Regions from separate parts of the Homo sapiens genome. Here regions 1, 3 and 4 are each linked to region 2. Evidence: promoter capture Hi-C in human tissues and cell types (Jung and others, 2019). All regions are on one chromosome and are shown on one strand. The core of a region is centred on a gene start or on the middle of the fragment in contact, and the rest is flanking DNA. Distances in the headings are between cores, read along the strand shown.

Region 1 (3,349 bases), core at 1-2,500, 77 kb before region 2:
GCTGCTGACCAGGCCATGCTTCAAGTCGAAAGAAAGAAATGCCCTCCCCATCTGAGCTGAGCGCAGGTGAGACCTGCCGGCCGGTCCCTGGCCTCCAACCTCAGGGAGGGCAGCAGCAGGGGCTTGTCAGGGCACAGAGCTGGCCTGAGGAGTGGGGCAGGGACCACGTGAGCCCTTGAGACCTGGCCAAGGAGAAGGTGCCCTGGGGACAAAGTGCACGGGCTTAGCCCTGTGGGGGATTCCACCGCACGCATAGGTCAGGCCTGCCCCACCCTGGCTGAGCCTTGGTTTCTAGCAGCAGCGGCCATCCCATTCCACGCCGGCACATGAACACGTTTCAGGGCTGTTCTAAAGCCCCAGCGCACTGGCACGCGAAAGGCCCTGGCATGCGACGGGCATGCAAGAAAATTATCCATCCTTTCACCTGGCAACTTGCTGGGGCTAACCAGAAAATGCCAAGTAAGCTAGGTGAACCCACTCCATGCTTCTTCCACAAACAAAACAAAATGTGTTAAGTTAAAGGAACTGCTCCCGTCCGGGAGGTGAGGGGCGCCTCTGCCCGGCCGCCCCTACTGGGAAGTGAGGAGCCCCTCTGCCCGGCCACCACCCCGTCTGGGAGGTGTACCCAACAGCTCATTGAGAACGCGCCATGATGACAATGGCGGTTTTGTGGAATAGAAAGGGGGGAAAGGTGGGGAAAAGATTGAGAAATCGGATGGTTGCCGTGTCTGTGTAGAAAGAAGTAGACATGGGAGACTTTTCATTTTGTTCTGCACTAAGAAAAATTCCTCTGCCTTGGGATCCTGTTATCTGTGACCTTACCCCCAACCCCATATTGTCCTATGACCCTGCCAAATCCCCCTCTGCAAGAAACACCCAAGAATGATCAATAAAAAAAAATAAAAATAATAATAAAAAAAAAAAAAGGAACTGCCATTCTGAGCCAGGGTGCAAGGCTGTTCCGCTGGCCCTGCTGGTCACCAGGGACGTCTCCTGTCCCTCCCCCAGCTGGGCCGGGCAGAGTGGTGGCTGGAGGCGGGTGGCAAGGAGGGTAGGGATGGGGGCAGGGGGATCAGGAGGGGACCCTCCCCCGGGTCAGTGCTCGCCTCAAGACCCCAGGTGTCAGGACAAGGAGCTCCAGCTCTTCCCACTGAGCCTCGGGACCATCTCTGGGGCCATCTCCTGGCCATCCACTTCTCTGTTCCGGGACTGCCCTAACTTCCCAGTCCCAGCCCCACAGAGGGGGCTGCAGGAAAATGGGGTAGCATAAATGACACCCTCCGCGTTCAGACACCGCATCACAGCGCTCTCCCCTGTAGGACAAGGACGTACTCTTAACACGCCAGAGCGTCCTGAAGATCTTGGTGTCGAACAGCGGGGCCACGGCCATGATGATGACGGCAGCCAGGGCAGACTTGGGGATGTAGTAGAACAGTGAGGTCAGGTAGTCCAGAGACAGCAGCACCAGCACTCCTGCGGGGCACGGGAACACAGGTGACCTCGGGAGTGCAGGGTCCCCCCAGCACGCAGCGTAGCAGCCTCTTGTTCAGCAGAGCCCACTGGGGACAGGGGTGGGGGTAGGGCGACGACTGCCAAGGCCCCCAGCCCCTGCTCAGTCTCCTGTGGTCCCCCTACTCCTGTGTGGCCCCCCAAGTCCCTGTGCAGTCCCGGGGCGCACGGCCCATGAGCCAAAGGGACGTCTCTGTGGGCCCCCTCCTCCCTTTCTCCCACTCTCAGGGCTGCGGGCACAAGGGGAAGATGGGGGGCCTTACCCGTCACCAGGCCCCCCGCCGGGGTGCACACCCCCGACTGAGCGTTCACGGCTGTCCTGGAAGGCAACACAGAGACCGTCAGTCACCAGGGGCCGGGAAAAGGGAGACCTCAGTCCACACTCCTGTGGCTGATCTTCCGAGGGGACGTCAGCTCCCAGCACGGCTTGGGAAGCAGGCGGGGACTGCAAGGGGACCGAGGCAAAGAGACTTAGGGTGCAGTCACAGACAGCCGCGCTTGGGCCACCCTGACTATAGGAAGAAGCTCAGGAAGCACGTGTCCTTTCAGGTTCCTGCCGACTCTGTCTCCTGCCCCCATCCAGGTGGGGCCCCCATACCCAGCAGGGCAAGGGTCACCAGCTGGGGGACTGGGCAGTGCCAGGTGACGCCTCCTTCTCTCCTTTAAGCCACAGGTCACCTCCATCCTGTTGTCCTGACTGAGGAGGGGCCGTAGGGCATCTGGGCTAAGCTTCATGCCCGGCTGCTTCAGGACAGAGCCGAGGCCCTTCCTATCTCCACGTCCTTTCAGGAATTGACTCTGGCACCAGGAGCTAGGAGGGCTTTGGCGTGCTGGGAACTTTCTAGTATTTATTTTAGAGACAGGGTCTCGCTCTGTTGCCCAGGCTGGAGTGCAGCGGTGCGGTCACAACTCACTGCAGCCTCATCCTGCTGGGCTCAAGCGATTCTCCTGCTTCCGCCTCCAGAGTAAATGGGATAACAAGGGTGTACCACAATGCCCAGTGGAACTTTCTAGTATGAAACTGCAGGACGATCTATGAGAATAAAGAAACAGAGAACACCCTGGAGGACAGTGGGTGACCCCCAGCCCTGCCTCTCCACGGAGCGTTCACAGTGGAGGACGGGGCGCCGGGGTCAGGGCAGGCAGACTCCTTGTCAGCGTAACAACGTTAGGGCGTCCAACGTGGGCAAACAGAAGAGGCGGACAGGTCACTCACCGTCCAAAGCTGCCTGTGACCGGGTAGGAGGAGACGAGGGAGCCCAACATGTTGGTGAGACCTGGGGAGGAGGCAAGACAGGCTGATCGTGGAGGGAAGGCACACAGGATGGAGGGAAAGGAGATGGGGAGGGGGACAAAAACCCAGAAGGGAGGCAGGAAGGCAGGGCTCGGGAGAATCATCCTGGGGGCCTGGGCCTACGCACTCCTTCAGGGAAGGAAGAAAACAGGCCACATTCTTGCAGACGTAAAGCCTAGCCTTTTTTTTTTTTTTTTTTTTTTTGAGACAGAGTCTGGCTTTGTTGCCCAGGCTGGAATGCAGTGGCGCGATCTCAGCTCACTGCAGCCTCCGCCTCCCAGTTCAAGCGATTCTCCTGCCTCAGCCTCCTGAGTAGCTGGGATTACAGGCACACACTACCACGCCTGGCTAATTTCTGTATTTTTAGTACAGACAGAGTTTTGCCATGTTGGCCAGGCTGGTCTCAAACTCCTGACCTCAGTGATCCACCCGCTTCGACCTCCCAAAGTGCTGGGACTACAGGCATGTGCCACCACACCCAGTTAATTTTTCTATTTTTAGTAGAGACAGGGTTTTGCCATGCTGGCCAGGCTGGTCTCAAATGCC
Region 2 (3,244 bases), core at 674-3,173:
CTTCCTGGGGCTGGGTCCAGGTGGCAACGACCGGGTCTGGGAGGGTCCTCTAGTTGGATTGTCCCTCTGCCCCTGACTTGCCCGAGCCTCACAAGACTCCTGAGGAGGGTCTGAGGGTGCTGACTGTGCCCTCCCATCAGACTGAACTCAGAAAGCCAGGGCAGCTCAAGCCAAAGCTGCCTCACCAGCAGCTGAAGACAGGGGCTCTGCAGAACTCTCCAGACCCCAGCCAACTGCCCCAGCCAGCTGCCCCTCAGGCTTCTGGAGCCCCCAGAGCCACACTGAACTTCAAGCATCAGTGGGTGGAGCTAAATAGAAGTCACTAGTCCCTTCTGCAGTTGCCATGAAGCAACTTACAGTAGTCTCCAATGGCAGTTAACAATTGCAGGAGTTTCTTTGTAACTTGTCCCAGTGTAAATAAGGGTTAGTCCTAACAGTAAAACAAAACAAAACAAAACAAAAAACCTTAGGGCTGGGCACAGTGGCTCAGGCCTGTAATCCCAGCACTTTGGAGGCCAAGGCAGGAGGATTGCTTGAGCTCAAGAGTTCAAGGCTGCAGTGAGCTATGATTGTGCCACTGCCCTCCAGCCTGGGTGACAGAGCAAGACCCTGGCTCAAAAAAAGGAAAAGAAAGAAAGAGAGAGAGAGAGAAAGAAAGAAAGAAAAGAAGAAAAGAAAGAGAGAGGAAGGAAGGGAAGGAGAGAGAGAAGGAAGGAAGGAAGGAAGGAAGGAAGGAAGGAAGGAAGGGAGGGAGGGAGGGAGGGAGGGAGGGAGGGAGGAAGGGGAGGGGAAGGGGAAGGTGAATGGGAAGGCGCCAGGAGCCGTGGCTCACGCCCGTAATCCCAGCACTTTGGGAGACCAAGATGGGCGGATTACCTGAAGTCAGGAGTTTGAGACCAGCCTAGCCAACGTGACAAAACCCTGTCTCTACTAAAAATAAAAAAATTAACCAGGTGTGGTGGCGTGCACCTATAGTCCCAGCTACTTGGGAGACTGAGGCAGGAGAATCACCTGAACCCAGGAGGCAGAAATTGCAGTGAGCCGAGATTGTGCCACTGCAACTCTAGCCTGGGCGACAGAGGGAGACTTCTGAAAAAGGAGAGAAGAGGGGAGGGGAGGAGAGGGGAGAGGAGGGGAGGGGAGAGGAGGGGAGGGGACGGGAGGGGAGGGGACGGGAGGGGAGGGGAGGGCCCAGAGATCTCTAATTCCAAACTCTGAATCTAACTGTACAGCAATTCTAGAAGAGCCTAAGATCATAAAATCCTGAGCATCTAAGATGTGGGTTCTCCTTATTTGACCCCTCCCAGGTCAACATCCTTCTCCTAACCCAAGTGTCAGTCTCTTCCCTTGCCAGTGAAGTAGGGAAGAAGGCATGTACACATACACACACGCACACGCACACACACACATGTACATACCCCATGGGGGGCAGAGGGTCACAAGCCCAGGAGGAGGGGGCACAGCTCACCTCGGCCCCCCAGTGCCATGACAGGCTGGCTGTGCCTCTGCTACCAACAGCAGCCAGCTGGTCTTGCTCACTTTGTTCTGAACTTAGACACCTTCCTTCTGCTGTCTTTCATCCCACGGCAATAGCGAAGAGATGAGAGTATAAAACAGAGATCCCTTTCATCTAGCATGACCCATGCTGTTTTAAGGCAGAACTCAGCATTCAGAGAATGTTCCAGTGATTGACCCAGCAACACAGACAAGCCGTTTTCTGTTCTCTAGTCCACATACAAGGCAGCTCCTCCACTCCTGATGAGGAAGATGCCGGCCCCTCCCACTCCCCTGGGACCACTCTCGGGCCCCATCAGACCTGTGTCGGCTGAGCCCCTCCGTAGGCTGAGCCCTCCGTAGGCTGACCTGCTCTTCGCCGGATGGACTGCGCGCACTTACCTTCCCCCTCCCAGGGAAGCGAGGACTGAATGTGGCCCAATCTCTGGCTGAACTGAACGGCAGTGGACAAGCAGGTTTGACAGGCACATCCCACAGGAGCAGTGCCTTATATGGGGCTTCTATGAGCCATCGAAGCACCAGTGCAGTCCCACAGCTAGACATTGCCGTAAGAACCACAGGGATGGCTGAGAACAGTCCGTGCATCTGGTCGACCCACAGAAGATGGTGATTGAGGGTGATTGAGGGGAAGGCTTCAGGCTTGGGGGCTGGGAATCCTCTCTCCTTTGTGAACGGTCACCCAGTTCATCATCATTTCTACCCTTGGGAAAATCCTACGAAGATCAGGATAAATTCTAGGGCCTTTCTTGGTTCTCATGATCCATTATTGGAAGTATCTGAATAATTCCAATAGATCCATCTCAAGTTAACATTTCATAACTATTGTTTAGATTTAGATGAAAGTCTTGGTCCTCCACCTTGAGATATGTCTAGAATCCGATCCATTCTCACCACCTGCATTGTGGTGTCCTGATCATGGCCCACCGGGACCTCTGTAATGGCTCCTAACTTCTTCCCACGCCCCCATCACCAGCGCTCAACACAGCAGACAGAGAAGTCCTGCTAGGGCATGAGTCAGCTCCTGTCATTCCCTTCGGTGTACAGGTCCTGGAGTCCTCAGCGTGACCATGAGGCTCTGCTTATCAGGTCCTTGCTGACCTTATCTCTCTTTTACCTGCTCCAGACACACAGCCCAACAGTCTTGACAGTCCAGGCACACTTCTGCCCCAGGGCCTTTGCACCTGCTGTTCCCACTGCCTGGAACACTCTTTCCCATCCCTCCTTCCAGACTCTACTCAAATGCTACTTCCCAGATCATCCTACTTAAGTCCGTAGACCTCCCATCCTGGCCTTCACTCCCCTTCCCTGTTCCATCTTCTCTGTGGGAATACTGCCTTGACCTAACGTGTATTCTAGTTACGTGGCTTCCTGCCAGCCTCCCCACTCCACAGTAACCTACTGAGGACAATAATTCTTGTCTTTCTTGTTCCCTGCTGTGTCCCCACCCCTAGGGCTGTGATATTCCACAAATATTGGTTGAGCGAATGAATAAACATTGGTTAGGGGCTTGGTTCCCAATGATGCAGACACTGAAAGAAGGGAAATTCACAGGTCCATGGCCTGAGAACCTTCAGGATTATCCTGCGGACAATCAAAGATCGGCCTTCAAGGTCATGTAGCTCATGGTGGCTGAGCAGTAGCTCCAACCCAAATCTCCTGGTGATGAGCCGGCTGAAGGCACAGCCAGTTGGGCAGAGCAAGTGAGAACGCAGGCCGAGGCCAGGTGCAG
Region 3 (3,657 bases), core at 643-3,142, 130 kb before region 2:
CTTTGCAGGCCCTCACCGAATCCCCACAACAAACTCCCAGGACAGGGGAGGGATCTCAGAAGCAGGGGTCCTGGCTAAGTAGTCAACGCAGGGTCCTGACTGACAGAGCTGGGGTTTGAACCCAGGCCATCTGGCAACAGTAAATCTAAATATAAAGCAACTTGTAAAATTTATTTTCATTGTTTAGAGACAGAGTCTCACTCTGTCATCAAGGCAGCGCGGTGGTGCGATCATTATAACCTCGAACTCTTGGGCTCAAGGGATCCTCCTGCCTCAGCCTCTCCAGTGCTGGAATTACAGGTGCACCACCACACCCAGCTAGCTACATTTTTTTTTTTTTTTTTTTGAGACGGAGTCTCACTCTGTTGCCCAGGCTGGAGCGCAGTGGCACGATCTTGGCTCACTGCAAGCTCTGCCTCTCGGGTTCACGCCATTCTCCTGCCTCAGCCTCCCGAGTAGCTGGGACTACAGGTGCCCGCCACCATGCCTGGCTAGTTTTTTGTATTTTTTGTAGAGACAGGGTTTCACTGTGTTGGCCGGCTCTATTTTTTATTTTAATTTTTGTTTCCCAGACTGATCCTGAACTCCTGGCTCAAGCAATCCCTCCTGCCTCAGCCTCCCAAAGCACTGGGATTACAGGTGTGAGCCATAATGCCCGGCCAAAACAACTTTTTTTTTTTTTTGAGATGAAGTCTCACTGTGTCGCCCAGGCTGGAGTGCAGTGGCACAATCTCGGCTCACTGCAACCTCCGCCTCCTGGGTTCACGTGATTCTCCTGCCTCAGCCTCCTGAGTAGCTGGGATTACAGGCATGCACCACCACGCCCGGCTAAATTTTGTATTTTTAGTAGAGACAGTGTTTCACCATGTTGGTCAGGCTGGTCTCGAACTCCTGACCTTGTGATCCGCCTGCCTCGACCTCCCAAAGTGCTGGGATTACAGGCGTGAGCCACCGTGCCCGGCCCCAAAACAACTTTTTAAACGTAAGGGTTGAGCCTATAAACAATACATGGTGAATCTCCTACAGTCAAAAGATATTAATGATTCCTCATACTTTAAGCCCCGGCACTAACTCTGTACATTGCCTTTGCCTCCACTCCTCCTCTTTGTCAAAATGTGCGGCGTTTATTTGGTTGTTTTTTATTTGTAAAACCAGGCCAGGCACAGTGGCTCATGTCTATAATCCCAGCACTTTGGGAGGTCGAGGCAGGCGGATCACAAGGTCAGGAGCTCAAGACCACCGTGGCAACATGGTGAAACCCCGTCTCTACAATAAATACAAAAATTAGCTGGAAGTGGTGGTGTGTATCTGCAGTCCCAGCTACTCAGGAGGCTGAGGTGGGAGAACCACCTGAGTCTGTGAGGCTGAAGCTGCAGTGAGCTGATTGCTCCACTGCACTCCAGACTGGGGGAACAGAGTAAGACACTGTCTCAAAACAACAAATAAATAAATGTGTAAAACTGAGAGGCAGATGTCGTGATAAGACATGCTGGTCAGGAAAGGCTACCTAATGTCATTCTCACGTTCAAATCAACACACGCAGAGAGAGTGCAGAGCTCAGTGGGGTCTGAGCAGGTACCAAGTCAAAGGCCATCGCCTTCTCACCACTGAACATTTCAGGCCCAGGACAGTCACACTGTGTTTCCTGAACTAGACACGGCACAGGCAGGGGCATGGGGAGAACATTCACGCTGCTTCTGCAGATGTCCTTGAGGGGATGAGTTCAGGCTGGCGTCACGCCACAACCTCCTAAACACGCGCACACAGAGGCTGCTCATGATACCACACGAAGCTTCAAAAAGCAGGGTATTCAGACCCAGCACGGTGGCTCACGCCTACAATCCTAGCACTTTGGGAGGCCGAGGTGGGTGGATCACTTGAGGTCAGGAGTTCGAAACCAGCCTGGCCAAAATGGTGAAAACCCTTCTCTACTAAAAATACAAAAATTAGCCATGTGTGGTAGTGTGCACCTGTAGTCCCTGCTACTAAGGAGGCTGAAGCAGGAGAATTGCCTAAACCTGGGAGGTGGAGGCTGCAGTGAGCCAAGATTGCGCCACTGTACTCCAGCCTGGGCCACAGAGTGAGACGCCGTCTGGGGGGAAAACAAAAGGCAGGGAATTCAACAGAGGACAGAATATAATAAAAATAAGACAGATGCTAGGAAAAACTACTGACATGACCACAGTGAGTGGTAAAATCACGGGTGGTTTTATTTCTTGCCTGTGTGCTTTCAGTCACTCTAGTCAAGCACTTATTTTTGCAATCAGAGAAAATCATTATAATAGCTATAAAAAACATTTTGACAAAAAATAATAATACCTCTGAGGTATCCCAAGGATGTGGCTTAGGTCACGGTGAAACTCATCTGGTGAGCTGGCATCTGAGGTTAGGAGGTGACACAACCAGTCCAGGCTGCCTTCTAATAAAAGCTCAATTTTTTCCACTACAAAAAGGACAATCAGGCCTGTTTTCAGTTTACTCCTCACTGGGCAGTCCACAGGCAAAAAGTCCGTGCTTTTTCCGTCCGGCAATGGTACCACGTGTTTTTTCAGATGTTGCCACAGGTATCTCTTCACCTGATGGTGGGAGAAGAGGAAGATGCATGAACCATGGACTTGAATTCACCGGCAGTGTCCAGAGCTGCCCCAGCACCACAGCTAGGGCAGCAGACCCCATCCGTGCCCCACCACCACACCTGTGAGAGCCACAGGAGGAGCTGCAGTGCAGCCAAGACCCTGGCATGAGGGCTCAGGCAGGGCCCCTGAGGCTCATCAGGGCTCAGCTTCAGCTCAGAAACAGCTCCAGGCCGGCCTGAAACCCACCCAGGCTGCACCGCAGTGTGGGTAAAGGTGCAGTGACAGAGGGTGCCCCGTTCCTTCCACTCTCCCTCCAAGGCCAGGGGAGGACTCAGGACTGGTGCTGGGGTGGGGCTGAGATTACAACCAGTAAAAGGAGGAAAATGGGGGAGGGCAGAGAAATCCCAAGAGACAGTGGTAGGAGAAAAGGCTGGAAAGTTCTACACATTCCCATTTGCAACCTGGCCCACAGAGTCAAGGGGTCATCCGGCCACTAGCAGGTCAGGTGTGGCTCCTGCCCAGCAGGTAGAGCAGCTGGTGGCAAGCCTGATACCTCTTTCTCCCTGTACTGCAAATCGGTCCACAGCTGTGCCTGTCCTTCATAAATCATAGGCTGTTGCAGGACAAAGCAAAACTGCTCGAACTGGGTGAAGAAGCTGTTCAGGTTGATGGTGTCCCAGGTCTGCAGGATGCTGAAGGTGCTGTCCAGCATGAGCGCAGCGGCAATCTGCTTCCCCTTCACCAGGTCCTTCCTCGGCCCGTCTGTGATGTGGTTCATGACTTTCTGGAGTCTCCCATGAGGCTTCATATAAACTATGTCATAGTACTGATGCCAGTCTAAGAGGGACAGAAGGAACAAGAGCCTACCTAAGACCATCAAAACCCTGGAGACCTAGACACTAGCCTAGAAGGCTGATCACGACTGGTACAGATATGGAGTAAATGGGGCAGAGGAAGGGAGGAAGGGAAAAGCAAAAACCCACACACTGACGACAGCCAGACTCCTCCAACTGACTTCTCATCTGAGGCCAGCCCCGTGCAAACAGACATCCTAGACGTCCCACAGTAATGAGTGGAAAGC
Region 4 (3,242 bases), core at 605-3,104, 100 kb before region 2:
TCTGTCTCAAAAAAAAAAAAAAAAAAAAAAAGACGGTGGAGGCCCCAGGGGGTCTGGAACCCACAGACTCCAGCCAGAGATGAATCAGGTGCAGAAGGGGCAGCTCTGCTGCTGCCCTGTGGGCAGGTTCAATGGGCTGGGCCATGGTGGCATTTTCGGGGGCTAGCTGGGCAGCTGTGCAGTGAGATTTTCCTGGGCAGAGTGAGCGGGGGCGGAGGGGAGCCGAGGCAGTGCACTCACTTCTTGGACGGTCCAGGAGGCTTTGGAACAGGGCTCCTCGGGGTTTTCTTGCCAACTGTCTGAGCCCGGGAACAAGCACGGGCCCCCTTCCTCCTTCAGCTCCTGCCCACACTCCATTTCACCCTCCGAGGCCGACGCCATTGTGGAGTTATTGTTCTCAGAATCTGTAACGGCAGATGAAGGAAGGGTCAGATCTCAGAGAGAAGCGAGTGTTAGGAAGGAAAAACAGAAATCCTCCCCACGAGTGCATGGAGAGATTCACCCTGTTCTCCCTCCGAGGTCCTGCATTGGGCCTGCTAACATGAGCAGGGTAGGGGTTCTGCTCCAGGTGGGTAGGAGGGAACCAGGGACCCCAGTTTCAGCACAACAAGGGGTGAATCAGACAGAAAGACTGTGCCGTCCTAGCATCCAGCCTCTTCCTCCCAATGTCCACGAGTGGATTCACCTGACTCTGTACTAGGATGTCAGCGCACCTCGGGCACCTCTAAAACAGAGCCTGTTACGCTTTCCTCCCCTACTGTAGACATTCCTCCTGTCTTCCCCAGGGTGGGCATTCTCCCAGTGGCGGCCCAGGGGTCTCAAACTGCTTCCCTTGTCCTGGCACTAAGGCATCTGCCCGCCCAGCTGCTCTGCCTCCAGATTCTCACCCATGCAGAGCTGCCATGCAGACAGCATGGAGCACCCACTCTGCCAGCCCCACACTCACTCTAGCCTTCATTGTGGTGTGGACGCACTTTGTCCATCCCCACCAAAACTCATGTTGATCCCCAGTATGCCAGTGCTGGGAGGCAGGGCTGCGGGGAGGTCTGTGGGTCGTGAGGGCAAATCCCTCACGAATGGCTTGGTGCCGTTTGCGGTCATGGGTTTACTCTTGAGAGGCTTGTTTACTCCCCTCGGGAATGGATTAGCACCCGCCAGGTGGGTTGTTATGAAGTCAAGATGTCCCATCAGGCTTAGTCTTTCACAGCTGTCAGCATCCCCGTCGGCCTACTCTGCCATGTGGCACAAAAGCCCTCACCAGACATCAGGGCCAGGCCCTGAACTTCTCAGTCTGCAGAACTGTGAGCTAAATAAACCTCTTTTTTCTTTTTCTTTTTTTATTTTATTTTATTATTTTTTTTGAGACAGAGTCTTGCTCTGTCGCCCAGGCTGGAGTGCAGAGGCACAATCTTGGCTCACTGCAACCTCTGCCTCCCAGGTTCAAGCAATTCTCCTGCCTCGGCCTCCCAAGTAGCTGGGATTACAGGTGCATGCCACCACACCCGGCTAATTTTTGTGTTTTTAGTAGAGACAGGGGTTTCAGCATCTTGGCCAGGATGGTCTTGAACTCCTGACCTCATGATCCACCCGTCTTGCCCTCTCAAAGTGCTGGGATTACAGGTGTGAGCCACCCCACCCGGCCTCTTTTCTTTTTTCTTCTTTTTTGAGACGGAGTCTCGCTCTGTCACCCAGGCTGGAGTGCAGTGGTGCAATCTCGGCTCACTGCAACCTCCACCTCCTGGGTTCAAGTGATTCTCCTGCCTCAGCCTCTGGAGTAGCTGGGATTACAGGCATGCGCCACCACACCCAGCTAATTTTTTTTGTATTTTTAGTAGAGACGGGGTTTCACCATGTTGGTCAGGCTGGTCTTGAACTCCTGACCTCGTGATCCGCCCACCTCGGCCTCCCAAAGTGCTGGGATTACAGGCTTGAGCCACCACACCCGGCCTTTTCTTTTTCAATTACCCAGGCTCGGGTACTCTTATGGCAACAGAAAATGGACGAAAACACCCTTCAAGGAGTCCCTGTTTTCAATCCTGGGTCTGGACGACCCCACCTCTCCCTGACACACACTCCAGATGGTGCCAGGCCAAGCCTGCTTTTCTGTACAGAACCTTCCCTCTGCCTGATCCCCACAGACCCTTCTCCAAGGCCCCAAGCCAGTCCCAGCTGCGCCCCTGTCTGGACACTTCATCCCCACGCCCGTTTCCAGCACCTGGTTTCGTCACTGCCCTCTCCTCCTCTGAGATCTGGAGGGCAGGGACCACGCAGACCTTTTTCCCTTTGAGTACTCAGTGTTGGCGTAGCCAAGAGCTCAAGAATTCGTGAAGTTCCTTAGCAGGACTCAAAATTGATAACAAATCCTCTAAACGTCTACATACATAAGACACACATGAAACATCACAGCCAGAAAGTAAGAGCTGGAGAAAGATCTGCAACAGGCGACCCAAGGCCCCATCCTTCGAGAGCTGCTGTTTCACCTACAACCAGGGATTCTGAGCCTGCCCCTCCCACCAACCTACCCTCCCACCAACCTACCCTCCCACCAGGGGCGGGCCCTGACTAGCCTAATCCAATCAGGGCCGATATTTACCCTGGCACTAGTGATTGACTAAGGGAAGGGCCAACCAGCAAGAAGTATGGAAGCATCCATACTTCTGGACCCTTACTGGGGTTTCTGCCACTCAGTGCATCCTGGAAAGACCATGAGGTGGTGCTGGGAAACCACTGTCTGTTCTCCTCCACCTGCAGACAAAGCTGGCAGTGGAGAAGGGCAGAGCTGTCAGGATCAGAGAAATGGAGCAAAGCCCTAGTACACTTGAACCCCTCAAGCCTGGACTTGGGCAACGGTGACCCAGCACGTTTCTCTTGCTGAGCAAGCCTAGGAGAGCTGGGTTTCAGGCTGTTCCCAGTATAAACAGTCCCAACAATCATAAGGACCAACCAAAGCAAAACGAGCTTCCCTAAAGACAGACAGGCCGCTCAAGGAAATACACATACATGTGGTCTCTTAACTTCCAAAGAGATGCCTGCCATGCCTACTGATGAAGGAAATCAGAACGGAGGCCCTGCAGTGCCATTTCCACCCAACGACCGGCACAGATTGACAAGATCCATCATTCTGAACGCTGGAGAGAATCTGAATAGAAATCTAGAAGGCAGGGAGCACAGAGACGCGGCCAGTGAGTGGCCAGAGAAGCTTTGTGCAGGGGATTTGAAGAGATTTGCATTGTAAATGTGCC

Evidence for each region. Contacts are between HindIII fragments. The study calls those that stand out against the background at their distance.
Region 1: a fragment that was not itself captured here is called in contact with the fragment with the promoter of CARD14 in region 2 in 3 of the 25 tissues and cell types used here (lymphoblastoid cells, spleen and stomach).
Region 3: a fragment that was not itself captured here is called in contact with the fragment with the promoter of CARD14 in region 2 in 3 of the 25 tissues and cell types used here (lymphoblastoid cells, mesenchymal stem cells and spleen).
Region 4: a fragment that was not itself captured here is called in contact with the fragment with the promoter of CARD14 in region 2 in 2 of the 25 tissues and cell types used here (lymphoblastoid cells and spleen).

What each region holds. Positions count from the first base shown.
Region 1 is chr17:80,244,633-80,247,981 of GRCh38, reverse strand. It overlaps SLC26A11 (solute carrier family 26 member 11), which reads right to left. Exons shown (of 18, transcript NM_001166347.2): 11 at 2,726-2,786; 12 at 1,773-1,828; 13 at 1,333-1,473. Among named protein-coding and RNA genes, the nearest start is that of RNF213, 15 kb to the left of the region's middle. The HindIII fragment of the contact is 7,646 bases long and covers 1-3,349 here.
Region 2 is chr17:80,168,709-80,171,952 of GRCh38, reverse strand. It overlaps CARD14 (caspase recruitment domain family member 14), which reads right to left and starts at 1,923. Exons shown (of 24, transcript NM_001366385.1): 1 at 1,897-1,923. The HindIII fragment of the contact is 21,960 bases long and covers 1-3,244 here.
Region 3 is chr17:80,294,476-80,298,132 of GRCh38, reverse strand. RNF213 (ring finger protein 213) reads right to left here. Exons shown (of 68, transcript NM_001256071.3): 9 at 3,130-3,413; 10 at 2,320-2,576. Among named protein-coding and RNA genes, the nearest start is that of RNF213, 35 kb to the right of the region's middle. The HindIII fragment of the contact is 5,200 bases long and covers 1-3,657 here.
Region 4 is chr17:80,270,403-80,273,644 of GRCh38, reverse strand. RNF213 (ring finger protein 213) reads right to left here. Exons shown (of 68, transcript NM_001256071.3): 3 at 241-404. Among named protein-coding and RNA genes, the nearest start is that of RNF213, 11 kb to the right of the region's middle. RefSeq lists a silencer at 2,497-2,546. The HindIII fragment of the contact is 4,608 bases long and covers 1-3,242 here.